4 separate regions of the Homo sapiens genome follow, and regions 1, 2 and 3 are each linked to region 4. The links are contacts of gene promoters, found by promoter capture Hi-C in blood cells and fetal thymus (Javierre and others, 2016). All regions are on one chromosome and are shown on one strand. The core of a region is centred on a gene start or on the middle of the fragment in contact, and the rest is flanking DNA. Distances in the headings are between cores, read along the strand shown. Region 1 holds the start of FTH1 (ferritin heavy chain 1). Region 2 holds the start of BEST1 (bestrophin 1). Region 3 holds the start of FADS1 (fatty acid desaturase 1). Region 4 holds the start of TMEM179B (transmembrane protein 179B).

What was found. The method cuts DNA at HindIII sites, captures the fragments that hold promoters and counts their contacts. A CHiCAGO score of 5 or more calls a contact.
Region 1: a contact is called between the fragment with the promoter of FTH1 here and the fragment with the promoter of TMEM179B in region 4, in 4 of 17 cell types (fetal thymus, total CD8 T cells, monocytes and 1 more). The highest score is 10.8, in fetal thymus.
Region 2: the fragment with the promoter of BEST1 here is called in contact with the fragment with the promoter of TMEM179B in region 4 in 2 of 17 cell types (monocytes and M0 macrophages); the score reaches 8.2 in monocytes.
Region 3: the fragment with the promoter of FADS1 here is called in contact with the fragment with the promoter of TMEM179B in region 4 in 6 of 17 cell types (monocytes, M0 macrophages, fetal thymus and 3 more); the score reaches 7.5 in monocytes.

The regions. Positions count from the first base shown.
Region 1 is chr11:61,966,052-61,971,854 of GRCh38, reverse strand. It overlaps FTH1 (ferritin heavy chain 1), which reads left to right and starts at 4,221. Exons shown (of 4, transcript NM_002032.3): 1 at 4,221-4,543. The coding sequence starts at 4,430. It overlaps LOC399900 (a long non-coding RNA gene), which reads right to left and starts at 4,561. Exons shown (of 1, transcript NR_187560.1): 1 at 2,976-4,561. RefSeq lists cis regulatory regions at 1-244, 1-249, enhancers at 3,115-3,164, 3,285-3,354 and silencers at 3,875-4,224, 4,495-4,694. The HindIII fragment of the contact is 7,079 bases long and covers 2,122-5,803 here.
Region 2 is chr11:61,945,825-61,951,676 of GRCh38, reverse strand. It overlaps BEST1 (bestrophin 1), which reads right to left and starts at 1,326. Exons shown (of 11, transcript NM_004183.4): 1 at 1,250-1,326. It also overlaps a transcript of RAB3IL1 not described here. RefSeq lists a silencer at 5,465-5,628. The HindIII fragment of the contact is 17,311 bases long and covers 1-5,852 here.
Region 3 is chr11:61,815,475-61,821,463 of GRCh38, reverse strand. FADS1 (fatty acid desaturase 1) reads left to right here and starts at 4,461. Exons shown (of 12, transcript NM_013402.7): 1 at 4,461-4,909. The coding sequence starts at 4,535. LOC124902680 (a long non-coding RNA gene) reads right to left here and starts at 3,444. Exons shown (of 2, transcript XR_007062696.1): 1 at 1-3,444. It also overlaps a transcript of FADS2 not described here. RefSeq lists silencers at 4,100-4,199, 4,540-4,739 and an enhancer at 5,260-5,989. The HindIII fragment of the contact is 2,548 bases long and covers 2,895-5,442 here.
Region 4 is chr11:62,783,322-62,788,818 of GRCh38, reverse strand. TMEM179B (transmembrane protein 179B) reads right to left here and starts at 1,417. Exons shown (of 5, transcript NM_199337.3): 1 at 1,292-1,417. The coding sequence starts at 1,387. It overlaps TAF6L (TATA-box binding protein associated factor 6 like), which reads right to left. Exons shown (of 11, transcript NM_006473.4): 10 at 2,431-2,559; 11 at 1,477-2,302. The coding sequence ends at 1,523. It also overlaps a transcript of TMEM223 not described here. RefSeq lists a silencer at 1,787-1,896 and an enhancer at 2,147-2,346. The HindIII fragment of the contact is 7,473 bases long and covers 1-4,021 here.

The sequences.
Region 1 (5,803 bases), core at 2,972-5,471, 820 kb after region 4:
CTGAGCTGGAGGGTGGGGGAGGTAGAACCCTGGTCAACAAAGGTCCCAAGACCAGGCCACAGCTTCGGAAGAATCTAAAGGCTTAGACATTGCAGTTCTGACACCTCAAGTTACCAGAAAGTAGGGAACGGACACAAGCAATCATATAAACAATCATAAACACACACACACACTCACACTCCCCCACCAATAGATTTCCCTTCCATTGTTCCCAGCCAGCCTCCTCCCAATGACCTTCTACAGCACAAGCTGTCCCTCAGTCTTGCTGCGATGTTCACTGCAGCTACATGCATGTTTAGCCAAGCATGGAGCCAACACTGATTCAGGAAACCTACTCCCTGCAGCAGACCGACTTCCCTCCAGTGGGTCCGAGAGCTTCATGCTGGCTTTGTCCCCCTGGACATCCCGGAAGCCTGGAAACTCAGCACATCTAGTCCAAAACCAAGCAGGCCTTCCCCAAGGGCTTTCCCCGAAACCTTCATTTCCTCCTGTGCTCCTTGGCTCAGGGAATGGCAGCAGCAGCCAGGCCTACCAAATCATAAAGCTGAGAGATCTCTTACACACTGCCCACCCCTGGCCCCCGACTTTCGCCAATCAGTCTGTTCATTTGATCTTCTCCAGATCTGTCAAATCTGTGTTCTATCTTCTCTGCTCACTAATAACTAAGGCTGCTGCCTCCTGACTGGTGCCCAGCCCTCTAGCCTCACTCTCATCCATCCTCCACATTCAATCATGAATCCATCTGTTCATGCAACAGATACTGGGCACCAAGTAACAAGCAATTTGCAAAAAGCTGGGAGTGCAGAGACAAGACAGAAACAATGCCTGCCTTCCAGGAGCTTACCATCTACAGCACCAGCGCAGGCAATCAAAAGGGTCTCATAAGGCCAGGTGCGGTGGGTCATGCCTGTAATCCCAGCACTTTGGGAGGCCGAGGCAGGTGGATCACTTGAGGTCAGGAGTTCGAGACCAGCCTGGCCAACATGGTGAAACCCCGTCTCTATTAAAAACACAAAAATCAGCCAGGTGTGGTGGTAGGCACCTGTAGTCCCAGCTACTTGGGAGGCTGTGGCAGGAGGATCTCTTGAACCCGGGAGGTGGAGGTTGCAGTGAGCCGAGATCAAGCCACTGCACTCCAGCCTGGGCAACAAGGGCAAAACTCCATCTCAAAAAAAAAGGTGTGACACATACATAGTACTTCATTAAACATACAAATATATATTATAGTTCCTAATCTTCATCACTTACATGAGCTACAAATATCATCCCAATTTGTCATCTCTGTTTTAACCTTGTTTACAACATCTTTTGTCTTACAGCTTTTCATTTTTAAATAGGCAAACCTGCCAACTGTACTTTTACGGCTTCTGACAGCCTCAGAAGAACATTCCCTACCCCAAAATTATAAAAATAATCTTGTATATATTCTTCTCAAAACTTTATACTTTTTTTAAGGCTTGGATTTTTAATCTATCTGGAATGTATTTTTAAATACTGAGTGAGTCACTTTTCTCCACATGACTGTCAATTGTTTCAACATAATTTGTTAAACCCATTCTTTCTTCCCTAATGTGACACAACAGTTTAGCATATACCAAGTTCTCATAATAGGGGGGCAGGACTATTTTGTTGCATTAATCTAGTCATCTCTTCCTGTGCCAGTACCATACTGCTTATAGCACTTTACTGTACCTTTATTATAGCACCAAATGCAAATCTATCAACACACTGACTCCTCCAAATGAACTTTAGAATCATTTTGTGAAGTTTCAAAAAAAAAAAAAATACTGTCCCAGAGACAGTAATGGCTGAGGAAAAACAAAAACAAAAAACTGCCTCTTATGGAAATTGCAGTGAATTTATGCTTATTTGGGGAAACTGACATCTTTACAGAATGAAGATTGACCGACCATTTGGGAATATGGTACCTCTTCATTTATGCTAGGCTTTTTGAATTTTTTGTCCAGCAGTAAGCATTTATAGTTTTTTCTATATATTTCTTGTTAACTTTATTCCAAGGTACTTTAAGCTTTTGTTGTCAATGTAAGTGAAAAACATTTTTTTTTCCATTCTTTTTTCCCCATATTTTCTAACTGGTGGTTACTGTTATAAAGGAAAGCTTTGGATCCTATATATGGTGACTTTGCTATACTCTTATCCTAAGAGATTCCCAGTGTAAGGTTTCTAAAAACAAAGCTAATGAGGTGTCTCTATGCTGTCTCTAGGATCAAGTTTAACCTCTTTTTATGGAACACAACCCTGCCCGATCTTGCCCCTATTCTCCACCCTAACCAGCATCCCCCAACATAAACTGTACTTTCCAGGCCAACATTCTTTCTTTCTTTCTTTTTTTTTTTTTTTTTTGAGACGGAGTTTTGTTTTGTCTTCCAGGCTGGAGTGCAAAGGCGCGATCTCGGCTCACTGCAACCTCCGCCTCCCAGGTTCAAGCGATTCTCCTGCCTCAGCCTCCAGAATAGCTAGGATTACAGGCGCATGCCACCACGCCCGGCTAATTTTTGTATTTTCAGTAGAGAAGGGTTTAGCCATGTTAGTTAGCCAGGCTGATCTCCAACTCCGACCTCAAGTGATCCGCCCGCCTCGGCCTCCCAAAATGCTGGGATTACAGGCATGAGCCACCGCGCCCAGCCCCAGGCAACATATTTTCTTAAGGCAGCTTTAACAGGCCATGCATTTCCACATTTCCACACCTTTGCATATGCTGTTCACTCTGCTCCAAATTCCCTTCCCTGTTTCTCTCCCGCACTTCACCTTCCTTTTAACTTTTTCTTCAAACTCAGCTCACGTGTCTTGCTTAGGGAGGGCTTCCCCGACCTCCTCCTATCCCAGACTGGGTAAGGTACTCCTGGTCTAGCAGCATCCTTCTGTTTACCTTATTCTTGTAGCTCTAGCACCACTAAAACGTTTTTCCTGTAAATAACATAGGTGCATTTTTAAATGAAACCGTGAACAAGAAATCACCCTAATTCCGTCGGCAATTTATTTTAGTATTTCAGTAGAGTTGCTTTTTTAAACTAAGGTTTGGAAGTCTAGCTTCCAGCTGCAGGTTTGTGAGCATCCTGAAATTCAGTTCTTCCACCGATGCGTCAAAAGACGCGACAGAACAGTGGACCTCGAAGCCAGGACCTAGGTAAGGGCAGGGCCTAGCTCTAGCTCTGCCACCCATAAATTCACATCCACCCTGTGCCTGGGACTCAGCTTAGCCACACACACCGGCCCCACCCCTCCGGGGTCTCTTTCACCTGTCACCCGCCATTAACCCCGTCAGCTTCTCTCCAATGACACCCCAGGGTTGTCCTACAGGGCCACCGAAGCCTGAAGCTCCTGTGAGTGGGGCCGATAAGAGGCCATTTTGAAAAGTCCTCAGCATGGGCTTCGCCTTTAGATCCACGTCGTTTCTCCTTTCTAACCCGAGATGTGTCCCTTGGGTGCGAAGCGACACCAGCGATTCTCTCGGAGGCCCCGGTGGCTCACCCCCACGACTCCCCGGGGAGGCGGTCCCCATCCCTAGGGAAACCCGGCCCGCCCAGCCTTTGTTGCAGAAACCGCACACGGAGCCATATTTGCTTTCAGCCAAAGGCAGACGTGGTCGGAGGAGTCGGAAGGGCAGGGGCGGACCCGAAACCCGCCGTGCGCCCCACTTCTCCATCGCGCTCCTTCCTGGACTCTGAGGAAGAGAAAATGCGCTCGACCACCTAAGGACCGCGTCTCCACCTTCCACCTTCCCAATCATCTGCAGCTTCCCAATCTGCAGCAAGGTGTCACAAGGGCTTCTCCGCAGCTATGATTTCTAACACCATGCCCCGGGCCAGGAGCCTCAGGGTGCCCGTTCGGGAAAATGGGAGCCGAATCAGGATCACCCCATGCGCCCCCGCACCCTTCCCCCGCCGGTTCCAACGCCCGGGCGCCCCTAGACCGGGGGGGGGGTTCTGAGGTGGACTTCCTGCGCCTCCTCGCAGCTTCCCTCCAACTCCACTAAACGGGCACAGAGACGCCACCGCTGTCCCAGAGGCAGTCGGCTACCGGTCCCCGCTCCCGAGCTCCGCCAGAGCGCGCGAGGGCCTCCAGCGGCCGCCCCTCCCCCACAGCAGGGGCGGGGTCCCGCGCCCACCGGAAGGAGCGGGCTCGGGGCGGGCGGCGCTGATTGGCCGGGGCGGGCCTGACGCCGACGCGGCTATAAGAGACCACAAGCGACCCGCAGGGCCAGACGTTCTTCGCCGAGAGTCGTCGGGGTTTCCTGCTTCAACAGTGCTTGGACGGAACCCGGCGCTCGTTCCCCACCCCGGCCGGCCGCCCATAGCCAGCCCTCCGTCACCTCTTCACCGCACCCTCGGACTGCCCCAAGGCCCCCGCCGCCGCTCCAGCGCCGCGCAGCCACCGCCGCCGCCGCCGCCTCTCCTTAGTCGCCGCCATGACGACCGCGTCCACCTCGCAGGTGCGCCAGAACTACCACCAGGACTCAGAGGCCGCCATCAACCGCCAGATCAACCTGGAGCTCTACGCCTCCTACGTTTACCTGTCCATGGTGAGCGCGGGCGGGCCTAAGCGGTGGCGGGGGCCGGGCGCGGTTCCCGGGGCGCGCGCTGGGGCGGGCCGGGGGTGTGGCCACCCGCGGGCTCTCCCGCCTCCCTGCGCCCTTCTGGAAAATGGAGGCTGCTCGAGGTTTCCGAGGACTTCTCTGGCGCAGAAAGTCGGGGCAGCTGGTTCTTCTCGGCTGTACCCTGAGAATGCTCCCTCCTAGGCCAGGGCCGCCTCTGCACACCCTTCTTTTTTAAGGAGACCTTGGTGTCCTGAAATCCTGGGGTTGCAAGACTGCCAGCCTGTGTGATCAATCCTGCGGTTAGGAAGGTGGAGTTTTGCTTTCCCATCTTTTCCTCTGCCTCCGGCATTTGGCCCTAAATGCCAGCGTTTTTTGCTTAGGTATCCAGCTCCCGTCCGCCTGTGTGTGGCGGAGCTGCTGGGTAACGGTGTCGAATAGCAAACCTTGGGGGCTGGCGGGAGGTGGCTTATCTTGTGGGTAGATCCCTCTCGAGCAGCCGTATCCACCTCTCGGCTCTGCTTATCTCTAAGTCCCACTTGCTTTGAAGCATATCTCTAGGAATCGCCCCTTCTGCAGTCACCGAAGTGTCACCTGACCTTGCGCCTAGGGGACCTAATTTATCTTTTATGTATCTTACTGTAAGAGGTGTGGAGTTTGGCCTACTAATTGAACCCCCAGTTCTTGGATAAAGTCCACCGACAGTTACTGGGCAAGAAATTTTTCAGTGATCAGTGGAATCAGTTTTCCCAAATCTTGGTCTTAGGCAGTGTCGTGGGAGTCTTCCTTAGAATTGCCTTGTGATTGTCCAAACTATCCCAAGAATAAATGTGTTCCAAATGGATTTGAAAACAGGCCTGTATTTCTGTGACTGTCACTGCCTTTCACAAACACTTGACTACATCAAATGTCTAAAACTGAAAATCAAATTTTTGTGATATAACTATTATAAAAGTATGTTTACATCAACATACTGTCCACATTTGCCACCTTGCATGGGGGTTTTTAATTTGTGTGTGTGTGTGAGAGACAGAGTCTCGCTCTGTCGCCCAGGCTGGAGTGCAGTGGCGCGATCTCGGCTCACTGCAGCCTCCGCCTCCTGGGTTCAAGTGATTCTCTTACCTCAGGCTCCTGAGTAGCTGGAATTACAGGCGCACGCCACCACGCCCAGCTATTTTTTTTTATTTTTAGTAGAGACGGGGTTTCACCATGTTGACCAGGATGGTCTCGATCTGCTGACCTCGTGAT
Region 2 (5,852 bases), core at 77-2,576, 840 kb after region 4:
CCATAGGGACCCTAGGAGGTGGATGAAGTGGTCTCCAAGGCCCTGCCAGTTCTGACTGCCTTTTGGAAGTAGAAACGCAAGAAAGTGAGCCCAGAGGCTGCCCTTTGCTTTGGCAGGGAAGACGTAGATAGGCGTGTGCATTGCCATGTGCCTTTAACTTTCTATAATCACTGGGCGCAGTGGCTCATGCCTATAATCCCAGCACTTTGGGAAGTCGAGGCAGGTGGATCACCTAAGGTCAGGAGTTCGAGACCAGCCTGGCCAACATGGTGAAACCCTGTCTCTACTAAAAATACAAAAAAATTATCCAGGCGTGGTGCGGGTGCCTGTAATCCCAGCTACTCAGGAGGCTGAGGCAGGAGAATCGCTTGAACCCAGGAGGTGGAGGTTGCAGTGAGCTGAGATCACGCCATTGCACTCCAGCCTGGGTAAGAAGAGCAAAACTCTGTCTAAAAATAAATAAATAAATAAATAAATAATACAATGACAAAGGCAGTAACAGCAGCAATGTCTACACACTAAGCTCAGGTCCTCTGGGCTAGGCAGTGTTCTCAGCCCATCTTGTTCGTTAGCTCCCAAGCTCTCTCAACCACCCTAGTGTGAGAAGTATGGAAGGGACCAGGCAGCCCTGTCCACCACCATATTCCCATTCCCATAATGGAACCTAGCTGGTAGAGATGCTCAAATGATGTTTACTGAATGGTGGCTCCAGGGCCTTTCCACCTGCTGATCTTCCTGCCTGGAGGAAGCTCTTCCTGAGATACCTGCATGGTTCCTTCCCACTCCAGGTTCCCTTTAGAAAGGATGTTCCCAACCATCCAACCTGGAAATAGAGCCCCACTGCCACCGGTGCTCTGTGTCTCCTCACCTTGCTTGATATTTCTAGAGAGCACTTATCACTACTTGAAATTATACAGGATATCTGCCTGTTTCCTGCCTGTTTCCTCCTCAGAATGGAAGCTCCTCTTGTGTTCTCGTAGAAGGCGCTCAATAAAAATTTACTGAAGCAGTGATTGATGCCCCCTCCATTCTTTCCCTGTGTGTTTTGCTGCAGCCACACTGGCTGGCTGTGCCTGATGCACACCAAGCTCATTCCCACCTCAGGGCATTTGCACAGACACACAGGTGCCCACACACCTGCGCATGTGCTGCCTGTGTGTGCATATCCCACACAAATACGCAAGATGGCCATCCAACCCTGAAGGCCTCAAAGCCCCAGCCCAGTCCACCTGGGGCACCTTGTACTCACAGGTGGGGTTCCAGGTGGGTCCGATGATCCCACAGAAGGTCTGGCGACTAGGCTGGTGGGACTCCCTGGGACTCTGTGGCCAGTGCCCCTGCCCACTCTTAGAGGCTGGCACTGCCCACGTGAGTGCTGAGCCGCCGTCACTTGACTCCCTAAGCCAGGACCTCCACAAAGGAGTCCTTGTCTTAGTCCCTTCTTGTAATCTGCTCAGAAGCAACGGCTAGCACAGCCTGGCCATGGCCCCTCTAATTTCTTCTTGGAGGGTGTTGGGCTGAGACCAGGGCTGGAATTTAGGGCAACACCCCCTCTACCATGGCCCTAAAATCCAGAGGCTAAAGGATCTGCTCCACCAGTGTTCTGACCCCTGAGGCCTTGCAGAGAGAGTTGGGGGTTAGGGGGCTGTGCTGAGCTTCAACTTCTGTGCCAGGAACTCTCCAGGAAGGAGGAGCCTCTGACTAGGCCCTGGGGTCTTTGACAGCCCTGTGGGCTATGGAAAGAATGAATACCGGGCTGCAGTCAACAGTCCTGGTTTCTGGTCCCAGCCTTGCCACCTGTGTGTGGTGACCCCGGGTAGGTTTCAGCTCCTCTCTCAGCCTCAGTGCCCTTATCTGAAAAGGATGGTGTTGCTTGGGAATTTCATCACCCTAGTAAAATGACAGAATTCTGCATATGCTGACGAGGAGCTCTGATTGGCTGCTGGTGACATCATACGTTATTCTGGCTGTGATTGGCTGGCAGGGCCCATCAGTAAGTTGCTTCAGAGAGATGGAAGGAGAAGCCTGCCGGGGCTGGTGGAGGGGGGTGAGTCTGGTGGGGGTTGACAGAACAGCCCTGGAGTTTATGCTGCTGGCTTCCAGCCAGCCAGTGCAATATGGGAATAAATGCCCAGATCCCCACGGGCAGCTGGTGAAAATCTCAGCATGTGATTCAATAAATTTTAATACATCAATCCATACTCAAGGGCTCTCCTAAGCTGTTGGAAGTGGTGGGTGTCTACCTACACACTCCTCTTGTATTGTTCAATGAAGAGAGCAGAGCTCTAGGCAGCAGTGGTTCTTGGTCTTTAGAGGCCGTAAGAATCGCCCAAATGTTTATTAAACGGGCAGTTTTCTGGATCTTTCTCCAGAGTCTGAGTCTGTGGCCTTAGGGATGTTGCATTTTAATCAAGCACTGCAGGGGATTATGAGATGTGTGGTTTTGGGACTAAACTTCCAGAAGCCCTGATTTTATAATATGACCTTGTGTCTTAAACCCACTCTCATCCTCCCTTTCCTGTCACCCTCTCTCTCTGAAATGTACTAAGCGTTAACTATGCTGAGATTGCAGGTGATTTTTCTACACACCACTTTTTTTTTCACTTTAAGTTCTGGGATACGTGTGCAGAATGTACAGGTTTGTTACATAGGTATACATGATGTGCAGGTTTGTTACATAGGTATACGTGTGCCATGGTGGTTTGCTGCACCTGTCAACCCATCATCTAGGTTTTAAGCCTTGCGTGCATTAGGTATTTGTCCTAATGCTCTCCCTCCCCTTGTCCCCCACCCCCACACACCATTTTTGCCTTTATATAATTATCTGCCTAGAAAAAAAAACACTATTTCGCAATGACCTTGAATACTTTTCTAATCATGGCAAACAATAAAGCTGTTGTTATTATAAGACTCTCTTTAGAGGCAGCCTTGTAGGAGTATTTACTGCCTCCCCGCTGCCCCATCGCTGTCCTCAACTGATATGGGGAAAGAAGCAGGTTCACTTCAGCCTCAGTCTCCTCATATGCAAAATGGGACAACGATGCCTACCTTGGCAGCCGAATGAGAATGATGGATGGGACATGTGTCCGTCAACTCTCCAAACCACTGGTGCCTGTGCCTGACCCCTACGAATTCTGATTTGATTGGTCTGGATGGACCCCAGGTGTTGGGATTGTTCAAGTTCTCCAGGTGATTCTGATTTTATGGCCTGTGCTGAGTCATTGCTTAATGGATTATTTCCCTATCCTGTATTCCCTTCCCAACCAACACATCCTGAAACTCAAGAGCTTTCCATTTAGAAGATGATAAATATATATTATATATATTTATATATTAACATATGTAAATATGTATTAATATGTCTATAATATTACAAATATATTTGTATGTACACATATATTTATACATATAAATATATAAGTAAATATATAACTATATTTTTGAGACAAGGTCACCCAGGCTGGAGTGCAATGGGTGTGATTTTGGCTCATTGCAACCTCCACTTCCCAGGCTCAAGCAATCCTCCCATCTCAGCCTCCCAAGTCGCTGGGACTACAGACGCACACCACCACACCCAGCTATTTTTTTTTTTTTTATAGAGATAGGGTCTCACTACATTACCCAGGCTGGTATTGAGCTCTAAGTTCAAGCAGTCCTCCCACCTAGGCCTCCCAAAGTGGTGGGATTACAGGAGTGAGCCGCCACACTCGGCCAATAAGTATGTTTTAACTAAAGTTAACACACATGCCTGGCACCATGCCTGGAACATTGATGCTCATTCTGTACTCTCTGAAGGAATAAATGAAAATCCTGCCTTTGTGGAGACAAGTTCTTGCCTTCCCTGTGGTGGCCACTAGAGAGCGTGCTTGACTAGCTGGCTCTGGCTGGGGAAGCCTGGTTCACTGGTCAGGATCAGTGCAGACCACGGAGCTGGCACTGCTTCATCTCCCTGACCCCGACCAGCAGCCATAGAGCCATGAGAGGGAGTTGGAGACACTAGAGTCCCTCCTCCCTGTTCCCTGAACCGCAGGCTCCTTGGCAATATCCCAGGAGTACCACCAGGACCATAGACAGTGCATGGCCAGTCTCCCTTCCCCTCCCAGAGGCCCCAGCATGTCCCCAGAGACATCCCATGAGCAGCTGCTCCTGGCCCTGCCCCAGAGCTGAGACAGGCACACCCTGGCACAAGTCATGGTCTCTCCTACTGGGTCTCAGCTATGAAAATGTCCCCAGTTAGCCAGGCACGGCTCAGGCACACAGCAAAGTCATGAGTGCTGATTGACCCAAGCCATGCCTGGAACAAGAGTCCCAGGATTGACCCCTGCAGAGATGGCACCCAACCCAGTCAAGGTCGCCCTCTTCTGCTTTCCGTTCCGCAAAGAAAATATTCGCCAAACCATTTCTCCTTCCAGAACTGAGCCTAATCTGATTCCTGCCTGTACGTATTCATAGTCAAAAAATTTGGAAACACTTAAATAACAACTCTAACACAGAATGGCAAGGCCTAAGATCTGTGCCAAGTGCACAGAGGTCAGGGAAATTTTTACAGACAATGGGGCATTTCGGTTGGGTCTTGAAGCATGAGTAGGAGTTCATGGAGCTGAGAAGAATGGAAGAGCATTACACATCAGGGGAACAACCTACGGAAAGTCATAGAGCTATTCCTGAAGGATGATTCAGTATCGCATGTTTATCCACATTTTACAAAGGAGGACACTGAAGCTCAAGGCCTGCCTTGTCCAAGGTCACACAGCTATAAATGGCTTGAGACTAGGATCTAGGTCTTTTGATTTTGGATCCTGAGCCCTTTCCCACTATCAGCTCTACAGTAAAGGTCAGTTTCTGAGAGGTAGAGTCTTACCTGCTAGGGTAGTGGTCTCTCTTGGGGTTGAAGGGAGGTCCAAAGGATGGGGCCTGCATGAAAGATACTTTTTTTTTTTTTTTGAGACGGAGTCTCGCTTTGTTACCCAGGCTGGAGTGCAGTGGCATGATCTTGGCTCACTGCAACATCTGCCTCCTGGGTTCAAGTGATTTCCGGCTAAGTATTGTATTTTTAGTAGAGATGGGGTTTCACCATGTTGGCCAGGTTGGTCTTGAACTCCTGACCTCAAGTAATTCACCCGCCTCGGCCTCCCAAAGTGCTAGGATTGCAGGCATGAGCCACTGTGCCTGGCCGCATGGAAGAAACTTTGACTGCAGCAGATTCCAAGCTCTCGAGCTCCCCAGCAGAGAGCCATCTCTTGGGGCAGCAGGGCAGAGCTGGGGAGATGCGCGGGGGTGCCAGACACAGAATGCTATGGCCTTCTCATCTAGAATTACCATAGCAACAGGAGCATCACAGAGGGCCTGCCTCGGTGCCCTTCTAGGCCCTGCCTCAGCTGGGCAGGAAGAAGGAGACCCAGCTTGGCTGGGGGCAGTAGGCAGGGGGCCCCGGGGTAAGTCAGCCAGGCCTGGATGCTGCCTCCAGGCTTTATGTGGGACACCTGCCAGCCCACACCCCTCTCTTGGGCCAGTCACAGAACAAATAGGGCAGAGGCCAAGAAAGAAAAGGAGGGGGCTTGGCATAGCTGGACAGGGGTGCTGGGGGACACTGCCAGTCCAGGGCCCGGAAGCCAGACAGACAACAGCACCTCCACCCTGAGCTCAGGCAGCCCTGATCCCTGAAGGACGGAGTAAACTCAACATTCAAAGAGATAGAAACATAAGCCCTGGGCACCACAGAAAGACGACAGAAACCAGGAGAGGCTGGGATACACCTAGGTCCAACTTCATCAAACCCAGTCCTGCCCATGACAACGGAATAGCATGGAATAGACCAGAGCTGGACCAACTAGAGACACAAGGCAAGAGGA
Region 3 (5,989 bases), core at 3,212-5,711, 970 kb after region 4:
AGGTTATTCCAACAGCCACTGGCAGTTAGGTTATTCAATTATGGCTTCATTACAATCGGCATTAAGGTCTTTTTTTTTCTTTTCTTTAGAGAGAAAATGGTGGGACAGTTAGGAAGGGGTCTCACTATGTTGTCTAGGCTGGTCTCCAACTCCTGAGCTCAAGTAATCCTCCCACCTCAGCCTCCCAAAGCACTGGGATTATAGGCACGAGTCACTGTGCCTGGCCTGGCATTAGGGTCTTAAGCTCATTTCGTTCTGTTCCTTGAGGATTAATTTGGCCAGAACAGTTAGTATTCACAAGTGGCAACCTAAAATTAAGTATGTGATTCATATCCAGGATGAGGCAAGTTCCCTTAGGATCAACAGGGCCTGCAAGGCAAAGGTTTCCTTTAGTTGACCTGGATATGGGTTTATTGCAGTCTGTGTGACCACCTGTGTAGGTGGGTAAGGAGATGAGAGGGCAACACGACATTTGCCTAGTGGCCTATAGGCTTACTCACCTGTATTTTTTCAGGTTGAAATCATCAGTTGATTCAGCAAATTTTTTATTTATTTATTTATTTAGAGACAGAGTCTGGCTCTGTCACCCAGGCTGGAGTGCAGTGGTGCAATCTCGGCTCACTGCAACCTTTGCCTCCTGGGTTCAAGCGATTCTCCTGCCTCACCCCCACAAAGTAGCTGGGATTACAGGCACCCCCCACCACACCCGGCTAATTTTTGTATTTTAGTAGAGACAGGGTTTCACCGTGTTGGCCAAGTGGGTCTGGAGCTCCTGACCTCAGGTGATCCGCCCTCCTCACCCTCCCAAAGTGCAGGGATTACAGGCATGAGCTGCCACGCCCGGCCAATTCAGCAAATTTATGTGGGATTCCACCTAGAACTCCAAACCAAGGTGCTCTGAATATGTATTGGTAGTATAAACAGAATCCACAGCCCTATCCTGGATTATAAGCTCGTTAGGGAGGTAGCAAAATACATGACACTGACCTAAGAACACATGAAAAGCAAAGAAACATGAATGCAAAGTCATGTCATATAAGCTGTTTAAATCCTGAGTAAGATGAATTTAATTTGCATCTATCCTACTGACCTATAATCCGTGACTCACTTGTCTCTCTCCTCCAGTAGACATGACTAGGCATGACCCATATAGTACTGAACTTTGTATTCCCAGCACCTTACCAAAGTAGGTGCTGGGAATACAAAGAGGAGACACCCCACAAATGTTAAATAAAACACTTAATGAATGGTTCTAGGTAGGTGGGGTTGATCAAGGAATTATCTTACAAGTGGTATGGGTTTTTTGGTTTTTTCTGAGGTGCAGTCTCACCATGTTGCCCAGGTGATTCTCCTGACTCAGCCTCCCAAGTAGCTGGGATTACAGGCACTAATTTTTGTATTTTAGTAGAGACAGAGTTTCACCATGTTGGCCAGGTGGGTCTCGAGCTCCTGGCCTCAGGTGGTCCACCTGCCTCTGCCTCCCAAAGTGCTGGGATTACAGGTGTGAGCCACCGCGCCCAACCTAGTCTTTTTATAGAACAGTTATCTCTGTAGCCAAACTTACATCATATTATTTAATTTTCCTTGATTCGGGGGAGGGGGGAGGGATAGCATTAGGAGATATACCTAATGCTAAATGACGAGTTAATGGGTGCAGCACACCAACATGGCACATGTATACATATGTAACAAACCTCCATGTTGTGCATATGTACCTTAAAACTTAAAGTATAATAAAATAAAAGATTTACATAAAACATTTTTCCTTGATTCTGTATTAAAGGAAAGATGACATTATTTTCAATGTCTGCAAAATATTTCACTGATGGGCATTTAGAGTGTTTCCATTTCCCGCTATCATAGATACTGCTTTAATGAATATTTTTTGTTTATAAATAGTTTTCTTTTTTTGTGTGTGGATATAGAATCTTGCTTTGTTGCCCAGGCTGGAGTGCAGTGGCACAATCTCGGCTCACTGCAACCTCTGCCTCCCGGATTCAAGCAATTCTCCTGCCTCAGCCTCCCGAGTAGCTGGGACTACAGGCGCACGCCGCCACGCCCAGCCGATTTCTTTTGTTCAGGCTGGTCTTGAACTCCTGAGCTCAGGCAATCCGCCTGCCTCGACCTCCCAAAGTGCTAGGATTATAGGCGTGAGGCACCCCGCCTGACCTATAAATATTTTTCTAAGAACATTTCCTTAGGCTATATTCCTAAACATGGAATTATTGGGAACATTTTTATTTTTCTATTTTTTTTCATCTCTTCAGTATTCAAAACATTCCTAAATTCTGGCCGGGTGCGGTGGCTCACGCCTGTAATCCCAGCACTTTGGGAGGCCGAGGCGGGCAGATCACGAGGTCAGGAGATCAAAGCCATCCTGGCTAACATGGTGAAACCCCAACTCTACTAAAAATACAAAAACAAAATTAGCTGGGCGTGGTGGCGGGCACCTGTAGTCCCAGCTACTTGGGAGGCTAAGGCAGGAGAATGCCATGAACCTGGGAGGTGGAGCTTGCAGCAAGCTGAGATCAGGCCACTGCACTCCAGCCTGGGCGACAGAGCGAGACTCCATCTCAAAAAAAAAAAAAATCTTAAATTTCTATATAAGTTGTCAAACTATTTTTTCCAGTTTAATCAACTTACACTTCTACCAGCAGTATGAGAGCTTTTATCCCACTGCACAGTCACATAGGAAAAATGGTTTATGTAAAGGACCTCTCTTCTGTTATTTAATACCCATGAATTTCTTATATAGTTGTAATCAGCGAACCCATACTACTTTGGGTTCTGCTTATTTCACGGGGAAGGATTCTATATCTATCAATATAGTTCACATTCTAGCCATTTAAAATCATTCTTTAATTCTTCATTGTGTTAACAGATCCCAATAAGCTTGGCGATTTTCTTATTGTCAGGACTCGGGTTTATTTCCAGTTTTTGCTATTAAATTGGCTATTTCTGCATCTTTGCACAGTCTCCCCTACTTTACCAAGAGTGAAACTGCTTGATCAAAGAATAGAAAATGTTTTGTAGCTCGCATTAGACACTGCCAAGTTGTTGGGCAAGGTTTTTAAAAAAGGAATATTGGCTGTACAGAGGTGCAGCTGTGTGGACCATCATTCCTGAGCAGGGTCCAATAGCCTGGCATCTTACCTGGAAGTCAGGACATCTAAACTTCCCTATGGGAACTTGGTAAGCCCCTTCCCCATTTCGAACCTCAATTTTCTTATCTATAAAATGAAGAATTTGGATGGAATGAATTAATCCTTTTCTACCAGAAATCTAGCCATATTTCACCTAGTCTATTCTGTATCACCCTCTCCTGACTCCTACGTGCTCAGAATCTAGCTCAGTGCTTGGGACAGTTATGTTTCCTTTCCCTTTGAAGTGCCCAAATACCAGTGTAATGAGAAATATGGCAGAGCCTGAGAGTTCAGAGCACAGGCCAGGGTCAAATCTCAGCCCTCCACTTACAAGCTGTGTGACAAAATAACCTCCCCCGGGCTCAGTTTCTTCACTGTAAATTAGGTTAATTGTTCCAACCTCATAGGGTTGTTAGGAGAATTAAATGAGTTAAGGTTTGCAAAACGCTAAGAACAGTGCCTGGCACACAGTAAGTGCTTTATAAAGTGTTTGTTGAATAAATAAAATTTTGGACCTAAACTCTGGGTCTCTTCAGGACTGCAACAGCTTTGTAACTGGCAACCCCACTTTTAGGTGCGTTCCCACTCCTCTAAAACCCAGAGATCTAAATGCCAAATCTCTCTGCTTAAAAAGTCTCCCAGGGCTCCTAGGCGCCTCCAGGCTAGAACAGAAATGCCTCAGCTTGAAGACCCAGGCTTTTCAGGTGAAACACCTAAGGGTCAGGAGACGCTAGGATCATCACTCAAGGATCCCAGTGAATTTTTCCAAAATACAATAAAAATAAAAACAAAAAGAGGCAAACAGGGTTATAAAAATTGTGGGGCATTTTAAATGTTTCATTGAACAAATTAAAGCATTAACAGCCCTCCCCCAACCACCACCAAGCCCAAGAGACCGTAAATATGCTGTTCACAAGATAACTGCAACTTTCAAGGGCTCTCAGGCTGCTACTTCGGGCAGCACAATTGGCGGCACGACGTGGCAAGCAGGCAGTAGTTTCCAACCCTGGAGGGTCAGCGTCTGGAGACCCCGGCCAAGGCATCCACAGCCTAAAGATGATGTCCGCGACCGCCCGGGCAGCCTCGTGCACGGAAAAACCTCAACCCCGGCCCCGCCCACCCTTCCTGCGGCCACCCCGCAGCCCTGGCCCCTCAGTCCATTCACTCCTGCAGCGCGGCCCCGCACCCAGGGCCTGCACTAGAACCGCTGTTCCTACCGCGGCGCCCCCTGGGAGCCAACGCCGCGATGCCCGCCTGACGTCAGGAAGTCGAATCCGGCGGCGACGCCTTTAGGGAGCCCGCGAGGGGGCGCGTGTTGGCAGCCCAGCTGTGAGTTGCCCAAGACCCACCGGGGGACGGGATCTCGCTCCCCGCGCCACGAGGCTCGGCCAATGGGAACGCGCGCTGCGAGGCCCGCCGGTCTGCCCTGCGGTGCTGAAAACCCGGCGCGCAGGCGGCTGGCTCTGGGCGCGCGCCAGCAAATCCACTCCTGGAGCCCGCGGACCCCGAGCACGCGCCTGACAGCCCCTGCTGGCCCGGCGCGCGGCGTCGCCAGGCCAGCTATGGCCCCCGACCCGGTGGCCGCCGAGACCGCGGCTCAGGGACCTACCCCGCGCTACTTCACCTGGGACGAGGTGGCCCAGCGCTCAGGGTGCGAGGAGCGGTGGCTAGTGATCGACCGTAAGGTGTACAACATCAGCGAGTTCACCCGCCGGCATCCAGGGGGCTCCCGGGTCATCAGCCACTACGCCGGGCAGGATGCCACGGTGAGCGCAGCCAGGCGGGGGCACAGGAGAGGGCGGGACCGGAGGCTGAGTGCAGGGGAGACAGAGTTACGCACTCCGAGCCAAACACCGACTAATTCGGAGGAAAGCCCGGAGGCGCCTGATCATACCTGTTGCCCGGTGATTGGGTGTCCTGCGGATGCGGGATGAAAAGGCGGGAGAGAGGCCTGGAGAAGTGGAGTCTGGGGAGTGGGGATGGAGGCCAACAACACGCACACACAAACAAAGGGTCCCGCCTCCCTGCCGTGCATTCCATCTGCAGCCCCGAGCCTCAGGTCTCTGGGCGGGGACAGAACCCCGAGCTGGGTAGGCTAGGAGGGAGGAGAGCAAGGATGCAGGCCGCCTGGGGAGGGAGGGGGTCAGTGGCCAGGGGAGGGAGTCACATCCTGTCTCGATGGCTAGGAGAGGCAGCGCAGCCGCGTCTGGACCTAGGTGCCGGTCTCCACTCGCCAGCAGGAGCGGAGAGGGAGCAGGAAAGGAGCCCATTCTCGAGGATGGGGCTGAAACGGGAAGCTTGGGGAGACCGCTGCCTTGGGGACCCCTGCGTCGTGTGAAGACTGGAGGACGCGGAAGGGACAGCGCTGGCCGGGGAGGGCAAGCGGCCGCTGGCGTACATAAGGGATTGGGAATGGCATACACTTAGCGAGGACCCCCAGAGCTGTTCTCGAATCGCCGGGGAGGCCACTGAGCCGCAGGCCAGCGAGGTCTTCAGCTATTCCGCGGAGCGGACCGCTGTTTACGCTCTGGGGCGGTAGGCCCTTCGCGGGGTCCTGTCCCTTCTTCCCTTGGTCTCACTGCGGGGTCGGCGCGCGCCCCAGCCCCAGGCCTGCTGCTTCCCTTTCTAGACCACAGCCCTCAGAGCTAAGGCCCCGGCGCCTCTCTGCTGGGTTGGAGTCCTGGGGACTCAGTCCTAGGGACTCGAAAGTCGGGGCGTTCCCTTCACCGCGTTTCCCCCTTGGCGGCCAGAATGGCGTCCCCTCCCCTTGCATCCCCCTCTGATCCCGTGCCCTGCAGCGTGATGCCCTCCACTGTCCCTATCCACTACCCTGGCGTCCCAGAGTG
Region 4 (5,497 bases), core at 168-2,667:
ATAGGCAATGAATATAGAATGCAATGAGCTTCAGAGAAGCCTCACAAGTTATGGTCTCTGTGCAGAAACCTTAGAGTAAACCCAGGCCTTGTATATCCTTCAACAAATAACTATCTGTGAGGTGCTTTTTTTTTTTTTTTTTGCTGGAGTGCAGTGGCGCCATCTCGGCTCACTGCACGCTCTGCCTTCTGGGTTCATGCCATTCTCCTGCCTCAGCCTCCTGAGTAGCTGGGACTACAGGCACCCGCCACCATGCCTGGCTAATTGTTTGTATTTTTAGTAGAGACAGGGTTTCACCGTGTTGGCCAGGATGGTCTTGATCTCCTGACCTCGTGATCCGCCTGCCACGGCCTCCCAAAGTGCTGGGATTACAGGCGTGAGCCACCAGGCCCGGCCAGTGTTTTTGTTTTTGTTTTTGCGATGGAGATTCGCTCGTCACCCAGGCTGGAGTGCAATGGCACGATCTCGACTCACTGCAACCTCCGCCTCCCAGGTTCAAGCGATTCTCCTGCCTCAGCCTCCGAAGTAGCTGGGATTACAGGCATGAGCCACCACACCCGGCTAATTTTTGTATTTTTAGTAGAGACAGAGTTTTGCCATGTTGGCCAGGCTGGTCTCGAACTCCTGACCTCAAGTGATCCGCCTGCCTCAGCCTCCCAAAGTGCTGGGATTACAGGCGTGAGTCACCGCGCCCGGCGGATCTCTGAGGTTTTCTCATGGTGTAAAATAGGCACACTAGTGCCTACTTTATAGGCATTAAATGAACCCATGTTTATTAACCAGATTACCTGGCTGGGGTAAACGATGTAAATTATTGGCTTCTACCTTTACGTCAGCGTTTTCTCCATCTCTCATTTTGTCATTTAACACACTGTGCTACAATCATGTGGCAGCTTGATCATCTCCACTACACTATGCTTTATTTCTCGACAAAGCTCAGCACAAATGGCTTCTGATTTAACGGATGGACGCAGGTTCTGCACTGACTTCTGTTTCGGAACCACAGTAAGGCTGTGCAGCAGGAGCCACGAAACCCGACTCCACCTAGTGCTTTAAGACGCTACTGACCCGTCCCTTTGGCGAGGGGACAACTTCGAAGTATGACCTGGCCAGGAGGAGCCACAAAGCGCGATTAGCCTCGCTGCATTTCAGGTACAGGCCGGCGCCAGCCGTGCCTCACCAGGTCCACCGGCTCCGAGCAGCAGCAAGCCCGGTCGGAAAGCGAAAGTGGCCTCGCCATGTCCAGACCGGCCAGCTCCCCCGCCTACCTGACCCCGCCCCGCAGCCGCACCTGGGTCCGAGTCATCGCCGCGGCCGCCACGGCCCCGCACAGGAAGGCGGCAGCAAAGAGCGCAAGCTCGACGCGCTGCAGCCAGGACAGCGCCATGGCGCCCTGACCACCAGGAAGCGCCGCTGCAGCAGCACCCCGCCCAAAGCCCACCTTATCCGGCGCGACCCACGAAGGTGGAGACGTCATTTCCGGGGGCGGGATTTATTTACAAGGAACGAAGGGGCCACTGACTCAGAGCGGCAAGTACAGCGAGTAGTCCGAGAGCGCCCACCGGCGGGCGGGGCGGCTGGTACGGCCGATCATGGGCAGTTTCTGCACGTAGCGCGAGGCCGGGCTAGGCCCGTACGGCGCGGGGAAGGCAGTCTGGAAAAGGCGCCCGCGGCAGCGCCTCCCAGCCTGCCGCCCGGCTATGATGAAACGAAAGTGCGGGGCGCCGCGCGGGGCGAAACGGCTCTTCTGGAAAACGTCGCGGGTGCCGGTCCCGGGGCCCTGCTGCCGGGGTGCCCCGCGCGCCCGATGCACGCGCGGCAAGGGCCTGCTCTCAGAGGCGGCGGGCCCAGAGGCCGACGCGGGGCCGCCTCCGCCGCTGCCCCGGGGGCTCTCGTCGCCGTGCGGGCTGACTATGGCGCTTGCCGTCAGCTGCGGCATCTTCCGCACCGAGTCCGGGGCTGCCGCCGGCTCCTTCTTGTCCCCGGGCGGCCGCGGAGCCGTGGGTGCAGGCTGGCCGGTGCCAAAGCGTGTGGCCAAGCTGTCACCGAAGAAGGCGTAGAGCTCCCGGTAGATGTCGGCCAGGGTCACCGAAAGAGAAGGGTCCTCCGGCCCCGCGCCCCCTGGCGGCAGCGGGAGGCCGGACCCAAAGCTGGGTTCTGCACCGCCCCCGGAGGACGACTCTTGAAAGAGAAGGCTGTCCCATGGCAGGTCGTCCAGGCGCCGGCACCCCCTGCCACCTGGGCCACCCCTGTTGGGCTCTGCTGCCTGGGCCTTCATCTTCAGCAGTCGCTCTACCGCCACCTGTAAGAGCCAAGGACTAAGATAGGCAAAAAATTCGAGGAACCTGGGCCCATCAAATATTCCAAAGTAAGCCTGCTTGGCTGCTAAGCTCATGCAGGGAAGGGAGGCTGGAAGGGGACGGTACTCACCAGAATGGCTCCATAGACTTTGTGTCCATCTGCTTTGACCTGGGCATTAGATACTGAATAATCATCCAGCACAGCCTGCAAGTTTGTCCAGTAGGTGGACAGGTGTGGGTACAGGACTCGTTCTACTGCCTGGAAGGAAGAGAAGGAATACAGTTAGCATGTCTTTGATACTTATTCCCTCTCAAGGACCCTTTCCCATGAAAGACCTACCTTTATCTCTGATCCTAGACAGGGCTCAATCCTCCTAAATTCCCTGATTGGCATATTCAACCATATATTTATTTGGAACCTACTGTATACCTAAGCTAGGCATTGGGAATAAAGATAAGGTACAAAGGGAGACAATAAAAAATATACCCAATATCACTGCCCTGTGTGCTAAATAATGCTCATTACTGACAACTCCAAAATTTAGTTTGCATACTGCTACCCTATACAATCAGGCAAGTACTGGCTTCACTTAGATGTAAACTGAGACTCAGTTCAAACAATCTGCATAAAAACAACCAACCAGAGACTTGGACTCTGATTATACAATTTAAAATCCTGTGATTGGACAGGCGCTGTGGCTCACGCCTGTAATCCCAGCACTTTGGGAGGCCGAGGCCAGTGGATCACCTGAGGTCAGGAGTTCAAGACCAGCTTGGCCAAGATGGTGAAACCCCATCTCTACTAAAAATACAAAAATTAGCTGGGCGCAGTAGCAGTTGCCTGTAATCTCAACTACTTGGGAGGCTGAGGCAGGAGAATCACTTGAACTCGGGGGGCAGAGGTTGCAGTGAGCCGAGATCACACCACCGCACTCCACCCTGGGAAGCAAAGTGAGACTCCGTCTCAAAAAAAAAAAAAAGAATTAACTATAAGGAAAATACCAGCTGGGCCTATAAGGAAAATACCAGCCGGGCGCTGTGGCTCACGCCTGTAATCCCAGCACTTTGGGAGGCCAAGGCAGGCGGATCAGGAGGTCAGGAGTTCGAGACGAGCCCTGGCCAGCACAGTGAAACCCCGTCTCTACTAAAAATACAAAAAATTAGCCAGGTATGGTGGTGAGCGCCTGTAATCCCAGCTACTCGGGAGGCTGAAGCAGGAGAATCGCTTGAACCCAGGAGGCAGAGGTTGCAGTGAGCCGAGGTCGCGCCATTGCACTCCAGCCTGGGTGACAGTGTGAGACTCTGTCTCGAAAAAAAAAAAAAGGAAAGAAAATACCATGCCAGAATTTACAAAAGTCTACAGACACTCAAGAAAAAGATAGGCGAGGTGCAGTGCCTCACGCTTGTAATCCCAGCACTTTGGGAAGGCCAAAGGATCACTTAAACCAAGGAGTTTGAGACCAGCCTGGGCAATGTAGGAAGACCTCATCTCTATTAAATAAAAAAAGAAAAGAAAAAGATGATCTAAATCTTATTAAAGTAAATATAAAAAAGAAATACTCCCCACATCATTCTGTAAGGCCAGTATAACCCTGATTCTAAAACCAGACAAGGACAGTACATGAGAGGAAACATGTTTAATTTCACTCCTGAATATAAACCCTTTTAAAATTTAGCAGACCCACAAGTAAATTAAAATGCATTACAGTCCAATAAAAGCTTTGGGTTTTTTCTTTACGACTATCCCATGACATAGTTTAGTGTATCATGGAACTATAAAGATTGTTTACTATCAGGAAATCTGTAATAACATTGGAAAACAAAAGCTGAAAAGCCTTCGGATCATTTCAAAAGATGCAGAAAAACCATCTGATAAAAATCCAATATAAATTGATGATAAAATTAAGAATATAGGCCAGGCACGGTGGCTCACACCTGTAATCCCAACACTTTGGGAGGCCAAGGCGGGCGGATCATGAGGCCAGGAGATCGAGACCATCCTGGCTAACACGGTGAAACGCTGTCTCTACTAAAAATACAAAAAATTAGCCGGGCATGGTGGCGGGCGCCTGTAGTCCCAGCTACTCTCGGGAGGCTGAGGCAGGAGAATGGCGTGAACCCGGGAGGCGGAGGTTGCAGTTAGCCAAGATGGCGCCACTGGACTCCAGCCTGGGTGTCAGAGCGAGACTCCGTCTCAAAAAAAAAAAAAAAATTAAGAATATATATATATGGCCAGGCACCGGTGGCTCACGCCTGTAATCCCAGCACTTTGGGAAGCCGAGGCGGGCGGAACACGAGGTCCAGAGATTGAGACCATCCTGGCCAACATTGTGAAACCCCGTCTCTACTAAAAATACAAAAATTAACTGGCCCTGGTGGTGCGTGCCTGTAAGTCCCAGCTACTCAGGAGGCTGAGGCAGGAGAATCACTTGAACCCGGGAGGTGGAGGTTGCAGTGAGCCGAGATCACGCCACTGCACTCCAGCCCGGGCGACAGTGTGAGACTCTGTCGCCCGGGCTGGAGTGTAGTGGCGCCATCTTGGCAAGATTCCATCTCAAAAAAACAAAAATCTCAAAAGCAACAAATAGAACTTATTCCAGGTATACAAAAGTGGTTCAGAAGAAGAATCCATTAATACACCTAGCATATCAACAGAATAGAACTTGTCATATTAAACCACATAATCGGCTGGGCGTGGTGGCTCATGCCTATAATCCCAGCACTATGGGAAGCCGAGGCAGGCAGACCACTTGAGGCTAGGAGTTTGAGACCAGCCTGGCTAACATGATGAAACTGCCTCTCTACTAAAAATACAAGTTAGGTGGGCATGGTGGCACGTGCCTGTAATCCCAGCTACTCGGGAGGGTGAGGTGGAAGAATTGCTTAAATCCAAGAGGGAGAGGTTGCAGTGAGCTGAGATCATGCCACTGTACTCTAGCCTGGGCGACAAGAGCAAAACTCCGTCTCAAAAAAAAAAAAAAAAGATCCTCCCTCTTAATATTATCACAGTGGCAACACCTAACTTTTTTTTTTTTTTGAGACAGAGTCTCGCTCTGTCGCCCAGGCTGCAGTGTAGTGGCGCAATCTCGGCTCACTGCAAGCTCCGCCTCCCGGGTTCACGCCATTCTCCTGCCTCAGCCTCCCGAGTAGCTGGGACTACAGGCGCCCGCCACCACACCAGGCTAATTGTTTGTATT